Linked DNA regions of Homo sapiens: all the other regions are linked to region 3. The links are contacts of gene promoters, found by promoter capture Hi-C in human tissues and cell types (Jung and others, 2019). All regions are on one chromosome and are shown on one strand. Each heading gives the region's core, a stretch centred on a gene start or on the middle of the fragment in contact. The rest is flanking DNA. Distances are from core to core; before and after follow the strand shown.

Region 1 (3,131 bases), core at 365-2,864, 200 kb before region 3:
AGCTGAGGAGGCCATGTTGGCTCTGACATAGAGTTGATTTGCATTCTAAGATGAGCAGCTCTATAGAAATAGCTGTAATACAATTTTACAACTTCCATTGAAACAGTTTTTTGGAAGGCTATGGCAGGAGGATTGTTTGAGGTCAGGAGTTTGAGACTGGCCTGAGCAACATAGTGAGATCCTGTCTTTGCAATCAAAATAAAACGATTAGCTGGATGTGGTAGTCCCAGCTACTCGGGAGGCTGAGGTGAGAAGATTGCTTGAGCCTGGGAGGTTAAGGCTGCAGTGAGCTGTGATTGTGCCACTTGCACTGCAATCTGGGTTGTAGGGTGAGACCCTTTCTCAAGGAAGAAAGAAAGAAAAACCAAGAAATTTTTTGTTGTTGTTGTTGTTGTTGGTTTGTTTTTTGAGACAGTCTCACTCTGTTACCCAGTGGCACAATCTCAGCTCGCTGCAACCTCCGCCTGCCGAGTTCAAGTGATTCTCCTGCCTCAGCCTCCCGAGTAGCTGGGATTACAGGCGCCCGCCGCCACGCCTGGCTAATTTTTTTGTATTTTTAGTACAGACGGGGTTTCACCATGTTGGCCAGGCCGGTCTCAAACTCCTGACCTTAGGTAATCCACCTGCCTCGGCCTTCCAGAGTGCTGGGATTACAGGCATGAGCCACTGTGCCTGGCCAAGAAACAGTTTTGATGAACAAAGTCACAAAAACAAAGCTACATCGAAAGTGTTATTGTCTCATTGATTATTGGTCACTGGCTGTGTTATAAGGCATGACTTTGAACTATTACTGATTTACTGCAGTTGACTATTTTCTGTACACGTCCGCCTATCTCCCAGTGCTGTACTTCAGTGCTTTCAGGATAATGAGATTTTTTCTTTGCCTTGAGGGGTTGGGCGTGAGGTCATTCCCTGACTTCTGTTTTGGATGATTTTCAGATATTTAATTTACATGGCTTTTGCATTAGTTATTCCTAGTCTGTCTTTTTAAATGAAGCTTTCTTTGCAGCTCTGGTTATTTAATTGAACACAGGAGTAGACTTCTCATTGATTTGTCATCATTTTAGATGAGAGGACTCAGCTCCTGGGCTGCCTTGTATCTGGGAATAACCCATAGTATCTAATATTTACCACATAAGGTAGTATATGAAGGTAGTCTTCCGAATTTACATTTTTAGGGCTTTAAAAAAATAATCTGGGGCTGGTCTGATGGTAGTGGGTTATCAGAGCTTATTAACATTAGTGTCACTGCAGTTGGTATACAAACCCCCCACTGCTAAATTTGACTGGCTTTAAAAAAAATCTGGGGGAAGAGGAAAGAGTCACATTAGTGGGGAAAGCTGCGTTTTGGGGATGCATTATGTTTTTGTTAAAAAAATATGTTTGAAAGAATTTCATCATTCAGTAGTTATATCTTCTTCCTCCTTCATTTTCTCTTTCAGAGAGGAGTAAAACATCCAGGTTTCATTTGTTGTAGAAGTCCTAGGATTTTTCAGGTTTTTTTTTTTAAGACAGAGTCTTGCTCTGTCGCCCAGGCTGGAGTGCAATGGTGCCATCTCGGCTCACTGCAACCTCTGCCTACCGGGTTCAAGCAATTCTCCTGCCTCAGCCTCCTGAGTAGCTGGGATTACAGGCATACGCCACCACACCCGGCTAATTTTGTATTTTTTTTTTTTAAGTAGAGATGGGGTTTCTCTGTATTGGCCAGGCTGGTCTAAAACTCCTGACCTCGGGTGATCCACCCACCTCCACCTCCCAAAGTGCTGGGATTACAGGAGTGAGCCACCACGCCCGGCCCGATTTTTCAGTTTTAATATTCATGATGGTTATGTGATTTTTTTTATTACTTGTTGGATCAGTCAGATTTGCTGCATAGTTGAATTTCTGTGATGAAAATTTCTGTAGTTGAAAAATTTTTTTCCCTTAAGTAACCTTGGAATTTTAATTAATTCCATCTCTACATGTGATAGAAATCTGTTTCACCAGAGGTTTGACTGAATTGAATTTCAAGAAGTGGTGGCACTTTCTCCATTGAGAGGAGAGGGCTGTGAGCTATAGAAAAAGCCTTTTTTTGGAGTGGTAGTGGTAAAATGTGTGTAACATGAATGTTATTCTAGTCTGTTTCCTTGTACTTTAGAGAAACCAGAAACACTTTAGTGGAAACCCTCTGTTATAGTCTGTCCTAGAACACATGGAGGCAAGTTTTTCATTCCTCTTGACATTATTCCCTGTGTGATTATAGGAACCTGTTTGGTTCCTGCCGTTGTTGGCTCCTGGAGTGGCATGTGACTACTCTTAGGCAGCTCCTGGCTCTTTTCTCATTTTGGGGTTCTTTGGCCTAGGGACTGGATGCCATTATGCCATTGTAGTAATGAGCTCCTACCTCCCATGCTGGATTGCTTTTCAGGAGCAAAGCTGAAGGACAGCTGAACAGGTGGGCAGATTACCAACAGGTGACTTTTAACCCTGGAAGGCCTTCAGTTAGTACTTAGTCTCTGGATGAGATTAAGCCAGGAGATCAAGTATAGTCTGTGGGATTAATGAGATAACCGATCGAACTTCTGGTTTGAGTGTGAAGCTGTCGGTTCATTTAGGTTTCTTTGGTTTTACAGTGTTGGTGTATTGGACAGAGAAGGGGACTACTTTTGGATTTGGAGGATGGCCTATATATAAAGCCTCAGATTTCATCTCTTCTCACTCTGTTCTAGCTATCCTGGTCTTTTTACTAGTTCTCTAACACACCAACTACATTCCCATGTTAGAATTTTTTCACTTGCTGTTATTTCTTTTCGGAATGCTCTTTCCCCAGATGTTTACATGGCATGCTCTGCTCATGGAGAGACTTCTTGGGAGAGCCAGATACTCTCCCCCAATGGCCCTTTCCCTGTGACTGTATTATTTTATCATTATTATTACTATTTTGTTGTTGTCGTGGTTAAATTCTCCTAGATCCTGAAGCCTGCAACCCTATCCAAAGGAAGACTCTAACCTGGGCAGCTGTAGTCCCAGCTACTGGGGAGGCTGAGGCTGGAGGATTGCTTAAGCCCAGACGTTCAAGACCAGCTTAGGCAACATAGTCTGGACAATCTATCTCTAAAAAATAAATAAGTAAAACAAAAGAACATTCCAGT
Region 2 (3,091 bases), core at 338-2,837, 180 kb before region 3:
GGCATGAAGCACAGCTCCTCTGCCCCTCCCCCACCACCCCCAGGGCGGCGTGCCAACGCACCCCCCACACCTCTGCCTATGCACAGCAGCAAAGCCCCCGCCTACAACAGAGAGAAACCCTTGCCACCGACGCCTGGACAAAGGCTTCACCCTGGTCGAGAGGGACCTCCTGCTCCACCCCCAGTCAAACCACCTCCTTCCCCTGTGAATATCAGAACAGGACCAAGTGGCCAGTCTCTGGCTCCTCCTCCTCCGCCTTACCGCCAGCCTCCTGGGGTCCCCAATGGACCCTCTAGCCCCACTAATGAGTCAGCCCCTGAGCTGCCACAGAGACACAATTCTTTGCATAGGAAGACACCAGGGCCTGTCAGAGGCCTAGCACCTCCTCCACCCACCTCGGCCTCCCCATCTTTACTGAGTAATAGGCCACCTCCCCCAGCCCGAGACCCTCCCAGTCGGGGAGCAGGTAAGTGCTTGGAAGCACCTTTTTCCCTATCATGCTGTGAGTTGATTTTATCTTTCCCCAGAGCACTCCTTGAAGACAGTAATTCGTTTATTCACTCAGTGGGTTTATTGAGTACCTTTTTATGTGTCAGGTCTGTTGGTAGGGAAATAGCAATAAATAGAAAAGACAAAAAAATTTGACAGTCAAACTAGTAAAATATATAAATACATAGTATGCAGTATGCTTTAGAGAATTACAAAGCAGAGGAGAGGAATAAGATATACTGGGGCGGAGGTCGGGATGATGATATCTTTAATTGGAGGAGTGGGGAGAGAGTCAGGACAGTCCTTACTGATACGGTGAAAATTTGACAAAGACCTTAAGAAAGTGACGAGTAAGCTTAGTAGTTATCTAGGAGAACAGCTGTTGCAGGCAGTGGGAACAACAAATGCAGAGGCCATAAGGCAGAAGTATTCTTGAAACATTTTGGGGACAGCAAGGGGGCCATTGTGGCAAGACTACAAAGAGTGAGGGGAGGGAAGAGTGGTAGGACTTGGAGGTTGGAAAGCTGGAGCTGCAGGGGAGAGCGCACTGCAGGATTTTGCAAAGACCTTGGATTTAACTGTGTGAGATGGGAAGCCACTGGAGGGTTTTAAACAGAGAAGTAGTATGATTTGATTCACCTTTTAAAAAGATCATTAACTCCTATGTTGAGAACAGACCGCAGGAGGACAAAGGTGACAAAAGGAGACCAGTTACTGGGCTGTTGCAGTAAACGGCCAGATGGTTAGGACTACTGTGAATTTGTGGGAAGATAGGTGTTCAGTTTGAGACAAGTTTGAGATGCCTGTTAGGTAATCAAGAAGAGACAATGAATTGGTAATTGGCTATCAGACTCCAAAGTTGAGGGGAGAGGTTTCGGCTAGAGAGATACATTTGAATGGTGTTGAAAACCACATGCTGGATGAAGTCACCTAAGGAGTGAATATAGATAAGAAGAGGCCTAGGAGGCTGAGGCAGGAGAATCGCTTGAACTCAGGAGGCAGAGGTTGCAGTGAGCCGAGATCACGCCACTGCACTCCAGCCTGGGCGACAGAGTGACAGTCCATCTCAAAAAAAAAAAAAAAAAAAATGAGGGCTGAGCCCTCGCCCTCCTACATTAGAGGCAAAAGAGATGAAGAATACCCAGCAGAGGAAACAGAAAAGCTTCTAGTGAGGATGGAAGGAGAAAAACCAAGAATGTGATGGAAAAACTCCAAGGTAGAGTAAGTGGTCAGCTGTGCCCAGTGCTGCAGATGGGTCAGGTAAGTTAAAGACCAAGAACTGGCATTGGTCTTAGTATCATGGGACCCTTTTGAGTAGTTTCAGTGGAGTGGTGGAGGGTGAAAGTGAAAGCTTAATTGGAGTGGGTTCAAGAATGCAGGAATAGGAGGAGAGAAATTGGAGATAGCAATATAGAAATCTCTTAAAGAGTTCGCTGTAAAGTCCAGGAGAGAGGGGTGAAGATAAGTGAAGTGATTGTTGGACGAAGATGTGGGGTTGAGAGTTGTTTTTTTCCCATCCCAAGATGGGAGACCTATTTGTATGCTGATGGAATGAGTAGCATGAAACTTAGGAGAGAGGGAAAAAATTGAATCAGAAGAGAGGGAACAGATTGCCTGAATAATGACCTGGAGGAGGCCAGAGAAAAGAGAATGTGATCGATAGATAAAAAGGGTTGGCCTTAGATAGGAACATAGTTCTTCCATAGTAACAAGAGGGGAGGCAGAGCATATAGGCTTAGAAGCAAGTGGGTAGGTGGGTGTAGTGGTAGAAGCATGTGGAAAGTTTATTCTAATTTGCTTCTGTTTTCTCAGTGAAATGGAAAGCAAGAGCATCAGCTGTGATTGAGGCGAGGGAAGGAGAAGGAGAGTTGAGGAGAGAGAAGAGGCATGAAATGGTCATCTGGAGCGTGGGAGTGTGGGTGGACTAGGGAAGTGTGCTCAGATAGGCAACCACGCGAAGGGCCCACTTGAGATTATGGGCCATACATTTCATGTGAGATTAATTAGTCTCATGTGTTCAGTTGTGATTTGCAGGTACAGAAAAAGAGTAGAGCTGTGTTTAACCAGCGTTAGCATGTTTTAGGCATGTGCGACTCTAAGGGAGAGTGGGGCAGGAAGGGAAGGGTGTATGTGAGGGAGTGATTGCAATAATGGAGCCTAAGCTGGGTGAGGAGGGAATTTAGGAACCCTGGAAAAAGAAGAGGTTGTGTAATCTCGTTATAATTAGCATAACTGAAATTTTAGAGTGAGGGAGACCGTGACAGCTCTCTGGGGCCTTATTGGACATGGGAATTTTGGCTCCCATATCGTTGTATCATTAGACTTTGAGACATACCCTCCACAAACAGCTTCTTGGCCTTTATTTATTTATTTGTTTGTTTGTGTTTTGAGACAGAGCCTTGCTCTTTCGCCCAGGCTGGAGTGCAGTGGTGCAATCTCTGCTCATTGCAACCTCTTCCTCCCAGGTTCAAGTGATTGTTGTGTCTCAGCCTCCTGACTAGCTGGAATTACAGGCATGTGCCACCATATCTGGCTAATTTTTGTATTTTTAGTAGAAACGGGTTTTCGCCGTGTTGGCCAGGCTGGTCTCAAACTCCTGACC
Region 3 (3,457 bases), core at 336-2,835:
TTTCACCGTGTTGGCCAGACTGGTCTCAAACTCCTGACCTCAGGTGATCTGCCCACCTTGGCCTCCCAAAGTGCTAGGATTACAGGCATGAGCCACTACGCCTGGCCTTCTTTTTTCTCTTTCTTTCTTTTTTTTTTTGAGATGGAGTCTCGCTCTGTCGCCCAGGTTGGAGTGCAGTGGCGCAATCTCAGCTCACTGCAAGCTCCACCTCCCGGGATCATGCCATTCTCCTGCCTCAGCCTCCCTAGTAGCTGGGACTACAGGCACCCGCCACCACGCCCGGCTAACTTTTTGTATTTTTAGTAGAGAGGGGGTTTCACCGTGCTAGCCAGGATGGTCTCGATTTCCTGACCTCGTGATCTGCCCGCCTCGGCCTCCCAAAGTGCTGGGATTACAGGCGTGAGCCACCGCGCCCGGCCTTCTTTCTTTCTTTCTTTTTTAGACAGAGTTTCCTTCTTTCACCTAGGCTGGTGTGCAGTGGTACAATTCTAGCTCACTGCAGCCTCCAACTCCTGGGCTCAAGTGATCCTCTTGCCTCAGGCTCCCGAGTACCTGGGACCACAGGTGAACGCCACCACACCTGGCTAATTTTAAAATTTTTTTGTAGAGACAAGGTCTCACTACGTTGCCCAGACTGGTCTTGAACTCCTGGGCTCAAGTGATCCTCCCGCCTCAGCCTCCAAAAGTGCTGACATTACAGGTGTGAGTCACTGCTGCAGGCCCCTCAAATCCTTCACTGCCATCTGGGAAATGATCACAACAGCTCTACAAATACACAATGATTACAAGGAATGGTGCCCCACTGGAGTTGTTCAACGCAAAACTTGCACATTGCAAGTGGCAATCTCCCAGGCCTGCCTCCCTCCACGAGTGGGTCTGAATGGGCCTGAGAGGCAAACATCCAAGAAGGAGGAAGAGGCTCGGCGGCACCTCCCTCCCCGGGAGTTCTGCTGATTCCATCTTGGGGAAGCAGGGTGGACCAGGGCCCAAATGCGCCCTGGGGAGATTGCGGGGGCGGGAGAGGTTGCAAGGGGCAAGTGGCAAGAGCCTGTTAACGTCTTAGGGCCTCCAGGCCTTTCTGTGCCCCTAGCTGTGCCTGTACGCTTTACCCCACCTCAGGAGGCTTGGTCTCCAGCGGTTGAGGCTGGAAGCACCGGGGTGCGGTGGAAAGGGCTCTGTCCAGGAAGACCGGATCCGCAGAGCCGGGAGTCCGGGCTAGGAAGTCCCTTTCTCGGTGGGAGACTGAGGCCGCCTTGGCGGGGCGGGACGAGACTCCTCCGAGGTCGGGAAAGGGGGCCCCGCAGCAGCCCCTTGGCTTCCCTTCTCCCTTGCCTCCCCTCCGGGGCTCCGGTTCAGAGGCACTCTGGGCGCCTGCTACAGCTTCCAAACTGCGCCGCTTCCTTCTTCGGCAGAAAAGGACTTTCAGATGCGGCGGCGGCGGCGGCGGCGACTCAGGACAGCGCCCCCTCCCCCTAACGGCCGCCTCTCCCTCTCCCCCTCGCCCGCCCCGGCTCCCCCACCTCTGGGAAGGCGCTGGGGGTGTGGCCAGGGACCGGTATAAAGTCCGGGGGAGCCGGTCCCGGGCAGCCGCTCAGCCCCCTGCCCCTCGCCGCCCGCCGCCTGCCTGGGCCGGGCCGAGGATGCGGCGCAGCGCCTCGGCGGCCAGGCTTGCTCCCCTCCGGCACGCCTGCTAACTTCCCCCGCTACGTCCCCGTTCGCCCGCCGGGCCGCCCCGTCTCCCCGCGCCCTCCGGGTCGGGTCCTCCAGGAGCGCCAGGCGCTGCCGCCGTGTGCCCTCCGCCGCTCGCCCGCGCGCCCGCGCTCCCCGCCTGCGCCCAGCGCCCCGCGCCCGCGCCCAGTCCTCGGGCGGTCATGCTGCCCCTCTGCCTCGTGGCCGCCCTGCTGCTGGCCGCCGGGCCCGGGCCGAGCCTGGGCGACGAAGCCATCCACTGCCCGCCCTGCTCCGAGGAGAAGCTGGCGCGCTGCCGCCCCCCCGTGGGCTGCGAGGAGCTGGTGCGAGAGCCGGGCTGCGGCTGTTGCGCCACTTGCGCCCTGGGCTTGGGGATGCCCTGCGGGGTGTACACCCCCCGTTGCGGCTCGGGCCTGCGCTGCTACCCGCCCCGAGGGGTGGAGAAGCCCCTGCACACACTGATGCACGGGCAAGGCGTGTGCATGGAGCTGGCGGAGATCGAGGCCATCCAGGAAAGCCTGCAGCCCTCTGGTAAGGTACCCCTGGCCTCCCAATTCCCTCCTGAGTGCGCTCCCTTCCCAGCGGCTTCTTCCCCATTCCAGCCGCCCTGGAAGGCCCTTAAAAATCCCCTATGAGTTGAAGAGAAGGCAGGTACGTGGCAGGGCCCGACTGGCATGGGACAGGCTCATCAAGGAAACTGCTACCGAGTCCCTAGCAGCCTGTTGCCACCACCAAGGGAGACTGTCCCATCGCTCCATCTCAAACCTCCAAGGGTTGTCTGTTTGATAAGGGGGTCCCAGTGGGAGGCCTGGCTGCTGGTGCAGGAGTGGCAGATTAAGGTCCAGTTAAGTCAGCTGTCTAGGGCCAGAGAACTGGAGGATGGTGGTGGGGTGTGTGTTGGGGAGGATGAGGGAGTGGGGAAAGCTTTCTGTTCCTGATCCAGGCCGAGGGTGAAATCCCAGTGGTCTGGGGAGCCAGGGCCTGAACTTTTTTTTTACATGGTCCAGTGGTGGAGTGGGACATACAAATTAGAGGGACTTTGGCGTTGAGGGGCATTAGACTTGCCCTTCCCCAAAGCCCAGAGCCAGGTCACCTTGTTGTTTGAGAGGCAGTGGGAAGACAGGGGTCCCTCTGCCAGGCCTGGACACCTCTGCCTGCCCTGGTATACAGGCCCCCTGTTCTTTTCTCCAGGCAGGTAGGATTTGAGGTGGTAGAAAAGTCTTGGCTCCTAGCCGAGAGCTGCAGGAGCCTCATGTGTGTGGGATAGGGAATAGAGAAGGGGCCAGGGCGCCAGGGGAGAGAAACAGAGAGAGAGAGAGAGAGAGAGAGAAACACACACACACACACACACACACACACACACACACACACACAGAGACAGAGAGAGAGAGAGAGAGAGAGAGAGAGAGAGAGAGAGAGAGAGAGAGAGAGACTCTGAGAAGGCCCTTGCCCTAACCTCATTCTTACACTTTCTTTTTTTGTTTCTCAGTTTCTCCTTAGACTCTCAGTCTCTTTTCCTTCTTTCTCTTGCTCTTTTGTTCTTCCTGATTTGTCTCTCAACCTCTAGTTTCACTAGTCATGCTCTCGAGTTCTGTTTTCCTCAGTGTCTTCTGCCCATCGTGCGTTTCTTTCTCCACCTTATTCTGTGTTTCTGTTTCAGTTGCTCTGCTTCTCTCCCTCTCTTTCTGTTGCTGTTTCTCTGTGTCTCTGTCACTGTTGGTCTTTCCCTGTTACTTTGGGAATCTCTCTGTCTGTCTTTCTGTATCTA

The links. Contacts are between HindIII fragments. The study calls those that stand out against the background at their distance.
Region 1: a fragment that was not itself captured here is called in contact with the fragment with the promoter of IGFBP4 in region 3 in 1 of the 25 tissues and cell types used here (spleen).
Region 2: a fragment that was not itself captured here is called in contact with the fragment with the promoter of IGFBP4 in region 3 in 2 of the 25 tissues and cell types used here (neural progenitor cells and spleen).

The regions. Positions count from the first base shown.
Region 1 is chr17:40,242,024-40,245,154 of GRCh38, forward strand. All of the region lies in intron 1 of WIPF2 (WAS/WASL interacting protein family member 2), which reads left to right. It also overlaps the pseudogene RNY4P8. Among named protein-coding and RNA genes, the nearest start is that of WIPF2, 24 kb to the left of the region's middle. The HindIII fragment of the contact is 7,181 bases long and covers 1-3,131 here.
Region 2 is chr17:40,264,681-40,267,771 of GRCh38, forward strand. WIPF2 (WAS/WASL interacting protein family member 2) reads left to right here. Exons shown (of 8, transcript NM_133264.5): 5 at 1-466. Among named protein-coding and RNA genes, the nearest start is that of CDC6, 22 kb to the right of the region's middle. The HindIII fragment of the contact is 4,401 bases long and covers 1-3,091 here.
Region 3 is chr17:40,441,865-40,445,321 of GRCh38, forward strand. IGFBP4 (insulin like growth factor binding protein 4) reads left to right here and starts at 1,586. Exons shown (of 4, transcript NM_001552.3): 1 at 1,586-2,220. The coding sequence starts at 1,872. RefSeq lists silencers at 1,483-1,672, 1,683-1,732, 1,743-1,792. The HindIII fragment of the contact is 6,489 bases long and covers 1-3,077 here.